Linked DNA regions of Homo sapiens: region 1 is linked to region 2. The links are contacts of gene promoters, found by promoter capture Hi-C in blood cells and fetal thymus (Javierre and others, 2016). All regions are on one chromosome and are shown on one strand. The core of a region is centred on a gene start or on the middle of the fragment in contact, and the rest is flanking DNA. Distances in the headings are between cores, read along the strand shown.

The links. Contacts are between HindIII fragments. The CHiCAGO score rates a contact against its expected background, and 5 or more counts as called.
Region 1: a fragment that was not itself captured here is called in contact with the fragment with the promoter of CDC25C in region 2 in 1 of 17 cell types (monocytes); the score reaches 5.3 in monocytes.

Annotation. Positions count from the first base shown.
Region 1 is chr5:139,343,513-139,348,622 of GRCh38, forward strand. The region is part of intron 1 of PAIP2 (poly(A) binding protein interacting protein 2); the gene reads left to right. Among named protein-coding and RNA genes, the nearest start is that of PAIP2, 4.2 kb to the left of the region's middle. The HindIII fragment of the contact is 8,536 bases long and covers 1-5,110 here.
Region 2 is chr5:138,330,333-138,336,132 of GRCh38, forward strand. CDC25C (cell division cycle 25C) reads right to left here and starts at 1,472. Exons shown (of 14, transcript NM_001790.5): 1 at 1,263-1,472; 2 at 655-886. The coding sequence starts at 848. LOC100128966 (a long non-coding RNA gene) reads left to right here and starts at 1,773. Exons shown (of 4, transcript NR_146628.1): 1 at 1,773-1,853; 2 at 3,101-3,196; 3 at 5,053-5,153. RefSeq lists enhancers at 630-1,583, 1,295-1,424, 1,435-1,484 and a silencer at 1,535-1,794. The HindIII fragment of the contact is 22,786 bases long and covers 1-5,800 here.

The sequences.
Region 1 (5,110 bases), core at 1,866-4,365, 1.0 Mb after region 2:
TGATGCTCCAGTTTTAGTGAAAAACTTGAACACTTAGCACAGCAATTTGGTTGATACTGTGGGAGATTAAAGAATGTGGAAGGCAAGACCTCTGCCCCCTTGTAATCTAATAACCTTTTGTGCTTTTAAAACATTTTCTTGTAATTTACATCCTATTGTCATTCATTATCATGAAACGTGAAATGGGCAGAGCAAGTTTTTTTTTTTTTTTTTTTTTGAGATGGAGTCTCACTCTGTCGCCAGGCTGGAGTGCTGGAGTGCAGTGGCGCAATTGGCTCACTGCAACCTCCGCCTCCCCGGGTTCAAGCGATTCTCCTGCCTCCGCCTCCCTAGTAGCTGGGACTACAGGCGCTTGCCACCACGCCGGCTAATTTTTTGTATTTTTAGTAGAGACAGGGTTTCACCGTGTTAGCCAGGATGGTCTCGATCTCCTGACTTTGTGATCCGCCCCCGTCGGCCTCCCAACAGAGCAAGTTTTATCTTGCCCATTTGGGAATTAAAGAAATAGAAGCCTGAAAGATTATTTTTATTTAGCAAATATTTATATAACAATAATGCCAGGCATTGTTCTCATTGCCTTTACAAATATTAACTAATTTGATCCACAACATAGCTAGAAGGTAGGCCCTACTGTAAAATGAAGATAACAAATGAGACGTGAAGTAACTTTCCCAATGTCACAGAGCTATGATAGTCGGAATTCAAATCCAGATAGTCCAGAGATTCTATGCTCTTAACCATTATGTGGTGCTGTGTGATTTAGTGACAGGTCTAGGGTACTTTAAGGTGGCTATGTAGCATAGCTGGGATTTGAACCTACGTCTTCTGACTGTGGTCTAAGATTAAAGTTGTCCAAGTCATTGCCTTTGTGATCTAGACCACCTGTTGCACAGGTGCATGAATAGTTTGCATTTGATATAGGCTAAGGTTCAGTTCCAAAAAACTCCCTTTTTTCTTAATTTTTTCATTGTTTAGAGTGGTGCTGTCCAATGATGTAGGTACTGTGTGTGGTTATGAGCACTTGAGATGTGGCTAGTGTAAATGAAGAACTAAATTTTAATTAAATAGATCTGTGTAGCCGATGGCCACCATATTGGATGGGCACACGTTTGGAGAATTTGAATAGCCTCTGCTTCTTATATCAGTTTGTATAAATTTGGGTGGCATTTCTAATGTACTTGAGCTTTTATCAGTTAGGATGACCCATTCTTGCTCTCACCTAATTACCCTTGTTACACTACAGTTGAGATTAGGGTAGACTTTGGGATTTTCTTGTGACATTGTTTCACCTCTGTAGATTTAAGATCTCTAATTTTTACCTTGTCCCTTGGTCTAGAGACCTTTAACTGCCCTAAATATTTAATCACCGAGATAGTTAATGCCAATTGTTATGTGCTAGGTTCTCTAACTAGGTACTATTATTAATTCCCATGCAACAGATGAGGAAACCGAGACTCAGGTTAAGTAACTTGCCATGGTCACACAGTTAGTAAAGCAGCCTGGTTCCAGAGCCCATGGGTTTTTGTTGTTGTTGTTGTTGTTGTTGTTTTTGAAACGGAGTCTTGCTCTGTTGCCCAGGCTGGAGTGCAGTGGCGCGATCTCGGCTCACTGCACGCTCCACCTCCAGGGTTCATGCCATTCTTCTGCCTCAGCCTCCTGAGTAGCTGCACCCGACACCACACCTGGCTACTTTTGTTTTTGTATTTTTAATAGAGACGGGGTTTCACCGTGTTAGCCAGGATGGTCTCGATCTCCTGACCTCGTGATCCAACGGCCTTGGCCTCCCAAAGTGCTGGGATTACAGGTGTGAGCCACCGCGCCCAGCCCAGAGCCCATGTTTTTTAATCGTTACCTTACTGTGCCAAATAGTAAAACAAAAAATTCGGTGCTTTTCACAGACTTCAGAGTGGAAAACAGACCAATTGAAAAATGTTGCGATCCTCTTTAACTGCCAAAGGAAGTATGCTTAAACGTATATATGCGTAAAATACGATTAAAAAATATGCAAATAAGGTAAGGATCACAGTGGTTCAAAACAGAGTCCAAGGGAATGAGAAAAGATGGTGCCTATGGAGGTAGATTAATGAAAGAAACAGAAGAGAACTATGCTTGAATTTTTTTTTTTTTTTTTTTGAAACGGAGTCTTGCTCTGTTGCCCAGGCCTGAGTGCAGTGGCATGATCTCATTTCACTGCAAGCTCCACCTCCCGGGTTCATGCCATTCTCTTGCCTCAGCCTCCTGAGTAGCTGGGACTACAGACGCTTGCCACCATGCCTGGCTAATTTTTTGTATTTTTAGGAGAGATGGGGTTTCACCGTGTTAGCCAGGATGGTCTCAATCTCCTGACCTTGTGATCCGCCCACCTCGGCCTCCCAAAGTGCTGGGATTACAGGCGTGAGCCACCGCACCAGGCCTATATTTGAATTTTAATGAGAATTCTTAAAAGATGAAACTAGTGGAGAAAGATTGTAAAACCTAAAAGATTTCTGTATTTTAAAATTCCATAGACAATATAAAAGGACACTGCTGGAAACCAATATGTCTAAGAGGCATTTCAGGAGGGGAAAAACAGCTGAAGACACAATAAAGCCCTAAGTTGATAAATTGAAAGGGTTTGCTGACTTCCAGGCAGTAGTACTGGGAAAAAATTGCTCTTACCTATCCAAAATCTGGTGAAATATATGAATTTGTTAAAACATCTTAAGCTGTCGTCTAGAACAGGATTTTTAAATTTTTATTTATTTTTTTGAGACGGAGATTTGCTCTGTCACCAGGCCGGAGTGCAGTGGCGCAATCTTGGCTCACTGCAACCTCCGCCTCCCAGGTTCCAGTGATTCTCCTGCCTCAGCCTCCCCAGTAGCTGGGACTACAAGCATGTGCCACCACGCCCAGCTAATGTTTGTATTTTTAGAGACGGGGTTTCACCATGTTGGCCAGGATGGTCTCAATCTCTTGACCTCATGATCCACCCCCTTGGCCTCCCAAAGTGTTGGGATTACAGGCGTGAGCCACCGCACCTGGCCTATTTTTATTTTTTGAGATGCAGTCTCCCTCTGATGCTCAGGTTGGAATGCAGTGGCACCATCTCAGCTCACTGCAACCTCTGCCTCCCAGGTTCAAGCAATTCTCCTGCCTCAGCCTCCCGAGTAGCTGGGACTACAAGCGTGCACCTCCATGTCCAGCTAATTTTTGCATTTTTAGAGACGGGGTTTCGCCCAAGTTGGCCAGGATGGCCTCAATCTCTTGACCTCGTGATCCACCCCCTTTGGCCTCCCAAAGTGCTGGGCGTGAGCTGCTGCGCCCAGCTTATTTTTATTTTTTGAGATGCAGTCTCAGTCTGTTGCTCAGGCTGGAATGCACCATCTCAGCTCACTGCAACCTCTGCCTCCCAGGTTCAAGCAGTGCTCCTGCCTCAGGCTCCCGAGTAGCTGGGACTACAGCTGTGCGCCACCATGCCTGGCTTAGTTTTTGTATTACTAGAGATGGGGTTTCACCATGTTGGCCAGGGCCGGTCTCAAACTCCTCACCTCAAGTGATCCACCTCCCTTGGCCTCCTAAAGTGCTAGGATTATAGGTGTGAGCCACTGCACCCAGCCTAGAACAGGATTTTTAAAAGGAAAGAAAATTGATTTTCTACAACATTGAAAGTTGGAATTATTGACAATAGATTATCAACAGGAAGCACAGACATCTCAGAATTCTGTTACAACTAATTTTTTTTTTAGCACATTTACATGGAAATACTCATGTTACAACTTTTTTTTTTTTTTTTTTTTTTTAAGACACAGTTCCGCTCTGTCGCCCAGGCTGGAGTGCAGTGGCGCGATCTTGGCTCACTGCTACCTCCACCTCCCGAGTTCAAGCGATTCTCCTGCCTCAGCCTCCTGAGTAGCTGACACTACAGGCGCCCACCACCATGCCCGGCTAATTTTTGTATTTTTGGTAGAGGCAAGGTTTCACCATATTGGCCGGGCTTTTCTAGAACTCCTGACCTCAAATGATCCACCCACCTTGGCCTCCCAAAGTGGTGGGATTACAGGCCTGAGCCACCACGCCAGGCCATACAACATTTTTATTCAAACATGAAGGCAAAAGATGTTTTGTAGCATTAGGAGATACACCTAATGCTAAATGACGAGTTAATGGGTGCAGCACACCAGCATGGCACATGTATACATATGTAACTAACCTGCACATTGTGCACATGTACCCTAAAACTTAAAGTATAATAATAATTTTTAAAAAACTGTGGTACATCCATAAAAAAAAAAAAGATGTTTTGGACACTGGCTTAGAATGATAAATCCTCAGGTAGCCTTTTGAACTATTTTACAAAGATAGGAAGTTAGGGGAAGATGATGAATATAAGAAACAACTCGGCCAGTGTGGTGGCTCATATCTGTAATCCCAGCACTTCGGGAGGCCGAGGTGGGCGGATCACCTGAGTTCAGGAGTTCTAGACGAGCCTGGCCAACATAGTGAAACCCCATCTCTACTAAAAATACAGAAATTAGCCAGGCACAGGCATGGTGTTACACACTTGTAATTCCAGCTACTCAGGAGGCAGAGGTTGCAGTGACCCGAGATCGTGCAGCTGCACTTTAGCCTGGGCAACAGAGTGAGACTCCATGTCAAAAAAAAAAAAAAAAAAACTACGAGTGATGAATTTATTTATTTATTTATTTATATTTTTTGAGACAGGGTCTTGCTGTGTCACCCAGGCTGGGGTGCAGTGGCGTGATCTTGGCTCACTGCAGCCTCTGCCTCCCAGGCTCGAGCAATTCTCCTGCTTCAGCCTTCTGAGTAGCTGGGACAACAGGGGACCACCACCAAGCCTGGCTAATTTTTTTTTTTTTTTTTGAGACGGAGTCTCACTCTGTCGCCCAAGTTGGAGTGCAGTGGCGTAGTCTCAGCTGACTGCAAGCTCTGCCTCCCGGGTTCACGCCAATTTCCTGCCTCGGCCTCCTGAGTAGCTGGGACTACAGGTGCCTGCCACCATACTTGGCTAATTTTTTTTTGTATTTTTAGTAGAGATGGGGTTTCACCGTGTTAGCCAAGATGGTCTAGATCTCCTGACCCCATGATCTGCCCACCTCGGCCTCCCAAAGTG
Region 2 (5,800 bases), core at 222-2,721:
TGCTAGTTGAGACATGGTATGATCAGAATTCAAAGTACAACTGCAATAACACTAATATTAATACTAATAAAGTGACCGACTCGTAATGCAGCGGTTTTCAAAGACTTTTCCCAGTTATCACATCATTTGATTCTCACAAGATCCTAGTAAGATAGGAAGCGATTATTATTTCTTTGTCTTTTCTTTTCTTTTTGAGATAGAGTCTCACTCTGTTTCCCAGGCTGAAGTGCAGTGAGGCGATCTTGGCTAACTGCAGCCTCCACCTCCCGGGCTCAAGCAATCCTCCCACCTCAGCCTCCCGAGTTGCTGGGACTATAGGTGCACACCACCACACTCAGCTAACTTTTAATATTTTTTGTAGAGACGGCGTCTTGCCATGTTGCCCAGGCTGGTCTTGAACTCCTAGACTCAGGCGATCCGCCCTCCTTGGCCTCCCAAAGTGCGGAGATTACAGGCATGAGCCACCTCGCCTGGCTGAGATTATTTCTTGTCACAGAAAAGAAGGTGAGACTCAAAAGGGTTACACAGTCAAGGGCAGAGTTGAGACTTAAAGCCTGACCTTTGAGCCGGGATAATTGAAAACAAACCAACAAACAAACCCAACTGTTTGGAAATAGCAAAGGCAATACAGTGTAAAAATAAAAGTATATTTACCCAGACAAAATGCTTAGGTTTGCAGAATCACCAAGAAATTTGCCCACTGGAGTTCTAGGGACATCTGGACAGACGGTAAAGGAAGTGTCTCTCTCCAGGAGCAGGTTTAACATTTTCCTTTGATTAGACCTAAAACTGGGTCCTGAGCCAGAGCTTCCTTCCTCTCTTGTGGATGAGAAGAGTTCCGTAGACATGGTCTTCGAATTCTCACCAGGAGAAAAACAAAACCTAGCTAGGAGGAAAACGTCATCTAAATCGGTACATCACAGTTCCCTCAGCTTTCCTAAACTCCTCCACCCTTTCCAGCCAGGCGAATCAACACTGGAAGAGGGGCAACCCCGAAGGGTGATTCACAGCCTGGCTTAAGGTTAGAACCTGAATTCACCGACGAGAGGCAACCTTAGGACCTTAAAGATGGAATGAAGAGAGGATTTTGACTTGTTCCACGCCACACAGCTCGAGACTCCTGACTAGAAAGAACCCGGGTCTCGTAACTCGCGATAGTCCCCATTCGGCCCTCCCAACCTCTGTCTGTGGGGGCCCGACTGGACCCTAAGGGGGACAATGGGGTCTCCGTGATTCCGTGGCGGAGACGGCTGCGGACTTACCTCAAGCCTGGAGTCTGAGGCTTGCCTACAAGAGGAGAGAAAGTAGATAGGGATCGGACACAGGCGAAGACTTGAGCAGAATGAAAGGAAATCTAGGGGAAAGGAGGTAGTTAACTAGATTGCAGCTCTGCCTTCCGACTGGGTAGGCCAACGTCGGACTCAGAGTCTTCCCTGAGCAGAAGGCCAAAGTTACGGCCTCTGAGCAAGAATATCAACAGCCGCAGGCGTTGACCATTCAAACCTTCCGCCAGCCCAGTAACCTATCCCCGCTCGCCTCTAAGCTGCGTCAGCCAATCTCCGCGCGCGCGCCCAGGGCCTCATGGCCTATCGTTGGGCTCGCAGATCACCTGGGGGCGTGTGCTTGCTCTGGAAATGGTAAGACTTGCCCCGCCCCATAGCCAGAGCAGGATAGTGTTTGGCCCACCAGCGTTAGGCAGGCTGCGGGGTAAGCTCCGCCTCACGGGGAGCCTGGCGCATCATTGGCTCTCCCTCTCACCAATCTCCACACCCTTTCTGTTTTCCTCGTTCCCTCAGCCCCACGAACCCCGGGAGATTTAAACCGCGCCTTACTAGTGATGTCCATTCACTAGGGTAATACTAGGAGAGATTATTTTGGGTGGAGGGTGTTGTAAGCGTTTCATTTTCTTCGCTTCTTTCTCGTGCCGTTTTCGCGGACGTTTTCTTCTAAGTTTTGCTGGCCTTCCACGGGAGATGGAGCGTTTGCTGCCGGCGTGGCAAGTGTTGGGGCGAGACGGGTGTGTGTGTTTATGCTGAGAGGCATTAGCCCCTTCCAAGAGCTTTGTTTGGTGTTTCTTTTAGTGTGCAGCATCTCAGAGACTCTAGCTCACGTGGGTAAAAAGAAATTCCGTTGCAGGGAAAGTGGAGGAATTAAATCATCTTGGTATAATCCTTATCGCAATCCAGAGGACCTCAAAGATTGGTTATTAATGAAAATTTGAACATTGACGAGGTGATATTTATAAATTATTGGCCGGACGCGTTGGCCCACACCTGTAATCCCAGCACTTTGGGAGGCCGAGGCGGGCAGATTACATGAGGTCAGGGGTTCAAAACCAGCCTGGCCAACATGATGAAACCCCGTCTCTACTAAAAATACAAAATTTAGCCGGTTGTGGTGGCACACACCTGTAATCCCAGCTACTTGGGAGGCTGAGGCATGAGAACTGCTTGAACTCGGGAGACAGAGGTTGCGCCACTGCACTCCAGCCTGGGCATTAGAGTGAAACAAACAAAAAGACATTCCTAATGTTAGGGATTTGCTTTTAAATAATCCTGTGCTGGGGGAAGGTATTGATGATACAAGATTGACCCTGACTGTTGAGTGATGGGGGCAGGAGGGTCCATCATATCTGTGCTTCTCAAGGTTTAATTTGCACACTAACCACCTGAGGACCTGCTAAATGCAGATTCTGATTCGGGATGTCTGGGTTGCGGTTGCGGCCCAAGATTCTGCCCTTCTAACAAGCCCCCAGCTGATGGTGAGGTAGCTGGTCCTACGACCATACTTTGCGTGGTAAGGTATTACCCCATACTTCTTACTTCAATGTATATTTGAAAATTTCCATAATAAAAATGTTCAAAATAACCTTGGAAGCTCTTTAAGATGTAGGCTCCAAAAACGATAATTCGATAGGTCTAAAGTGGGGTCATTATCAAGGCCCCCAGGTGCTACCCATGCAGACGGCTTGCAGATCATGCTTTGAGAAACAAAAGTCAAAATGCAACTTGTGTCTGTTGTCAGGATCTTGGTGGTGGTAGTGGCTGAGAGGCACAGTGTAGCCAGCTGGTTTTTATCCTAATACCCTTTTCATCTGCAGAACCTGCTTCCCCAGAAAGGAGATGTGTGAAGATTCTTTGTCCTCTAGGATACAGACAGTGAGTGTAGGAGTTAGCACAGAACCTTGCTATGCCAGGTGAGTTTGAAAATCAGGCTGGGGATTAAGGGAGTGTGGGATGAGTTGTTATCTGCTTTGACGACTACAGTATAATCACACTTTGTGGGAAATTGTATACTTCCCTGCAGGTGGGAAGTAGAGACAAAGTTATTCTCTATTGGTGGCAAAAGCAGATAGATTATGGCAAGTGCACACCTGGCTACCAGTGCTTTCTGCACCAGGTCCTCAAGTAAGTGCAGTTGTGGGTGGTCACAACAAAGGTGTCAGCCAAGTGGCTTTAGTTCAATGTCAGGTGATGGAAATATACTAAAATCTGAGCACTCTGACAAAGTTGCAGCATTCCTAAAACAAATTCTCCAAAAATCTAGCCCCAAAAATAAGTTTCTGAGATTTCTCAAATGGAACTTATACACCTAGCTCTTAAGAGTATTTTTTTTTTTTTTAAGATGGAGTCTCGCTCTCTCCCGGGCTAGAGTACAGTGGCGCAATCTTGGCCCACTGCAACCTCTGCCTCCTGGGTTCAAGTTATTCTCCTGCCTCAGCCTCCCGAGTAGCTGGGACTACAGGTGCCCGCCACCACGCCTGGCTGATTTTTGTATTTTTAATAGAGGTGGGGTTTCACCATATTGTCCAGGCTGTTCTGGAACTCCTGACCTCAAATGATCCACCCACCTCGGCCTCCCAAAGTGCTGGGATTACAGGCATGAGCCACTGCGCCCGGCCGCCCTTAAGACTTTTTACAGATGCAGTGGTGCGCCTGTAGTCCCAGCTACTTGGGAGGATCACTTGAGCCCAGGAGTTTGAGGCCAGCCTGGGCAACATAGTGAGACTGTCTCCTAAAAACAACAACAAAAAAACTTTTTTTTTTTGAGACAGTTTCTTTCTTGTTGCCTAGGCTGGAGTGCAATGGCGCAATCTCAGCTCACTGCAACCTCTGTTCAAGTGATTCTCTTGCCTCAGCCTCCTGAGTAGCTGGGATTACAGGCATGCGCCACCACACCTGGCTAATTTTTGTATTTTTAGTTGAGACAGGGTTTCGCTGTGTTGGCCAGGCTGGTCTCAAACTCCTGACCTGAGGTAATCCACCCACCTCGGCCTCCCAAAGTGCTGGGATTACAGGTGTGAGCCACCATGCCCAGCCAACAAAACTCTTAAAAGCTCTACGTTTGTTAATGAGGTTGTTTTCCTAGCAAACATTTTCACTATCTCCTCATGATTCCAGCTGGCTTAGCTAATTGCAACATACTTAGCTAATTACATGTAAGTTTACATGCATACATACAAACTGTGAAATGGTAGAATTATTTTAAAGGGAAGTCAAATATTGTCTTTTATATCTTGATTTATGAGGGTGTTGGAATATATCTAAGTTATCCTTCCCAGAAGAAAGAATATTAGGGAGGTGGGAAGTTTGGTGTTTAATCTGATTTGAAGATTTACTTTTTCTGTTGGATTGAGGGCATTGATCCTATGTCATCCTTGGGGAATCCCTATCTAGGCTCCTGATTCACTGTGATAAGCAGTGAGCTGTGTTCCTTCACCTTGACCTCAGTCTGACTCATACATGTTGTTGCCAGGGCACAGTGACAGCCCGGGCTTCACCCTGAAACACCAAACAAGAACAGGAGGTACAGCCATCACTCCTGGGATGCCCAGATCAGGCAGTGGAGAAGAGCCCTGCATTCCTGGGATCCTCCCAGCCAGCCTCTGCAGGGCAGAGGGGCTGAGGGGTGTGTTTTCTATTCCTGGTTCTTTTTATGACTGGTAGGCTTAGCCCTACTTCTCCCCACTTTGCAGAGGTTTAGCTTTCACTGGGTGAAAAGGGAAGGTCTGAATCGAGTGCATGTTCCTCCAACTCGGCTGTTCCTTCCTAGGCAGGGAATGAAGAGTCTTAGAACCAATGGATTCCACTCCTTTGGATGACCTCCTGGATGACTGGCTCCAGGCCCTGGAGCCCTCAGAATATGGATGGAGAGTATCCTTTGCTGAAACCCACTGGAGCAGGGTCACAGATGGGGTTTGGCCCATGAGGGCATAATTAAGATGCAGTTCAAAGCAGTGGCTCAAGAACAAAAGACTAAAAAGGGGGCAGCAGGGAAAGAGCAGGACATGAGTAAAAAATCCTTGGGAACTAAAAGTGGAATAAGGAGATTTAATTATGGGTAGGAGTGTTGGGCTGCACTGGGAGGCCATTTTATAGATGACGAAAGGGGATGTAACCTTCCTTTGAAATGAGGCCTGAAACTTGACTTGCAGGGTTTTTTTTTTTGTTTTGTTTTTTTTGTTTTGTTTTGGGTCTCAGTTTCTTTCAATGTTTTGCAAATGAGCCAATGCCTACTTTTAACTCAACCATTTAATTCATAATAATTAAATTATTAATTTAATTAATAATAAAAAGGTGAACAGCTTAGTGGTGAAAAGCAAGGGCTTTTAGACTGCTTTTTGAGAGTACCTTTGCCTACCATGTGGGCAGTCACTTAACTTCTTGGGCTGTTTCATTTGTCAAAGAGAAGGTTTTGTTTCATTTGATGATTGTAAGAAAAAATGAGAATATATATCAAAGTATGTAGGTCAAGTGTGGTGGTTCACACCTGGAATCCCAGCACTTCGTTTTTTGTTCAT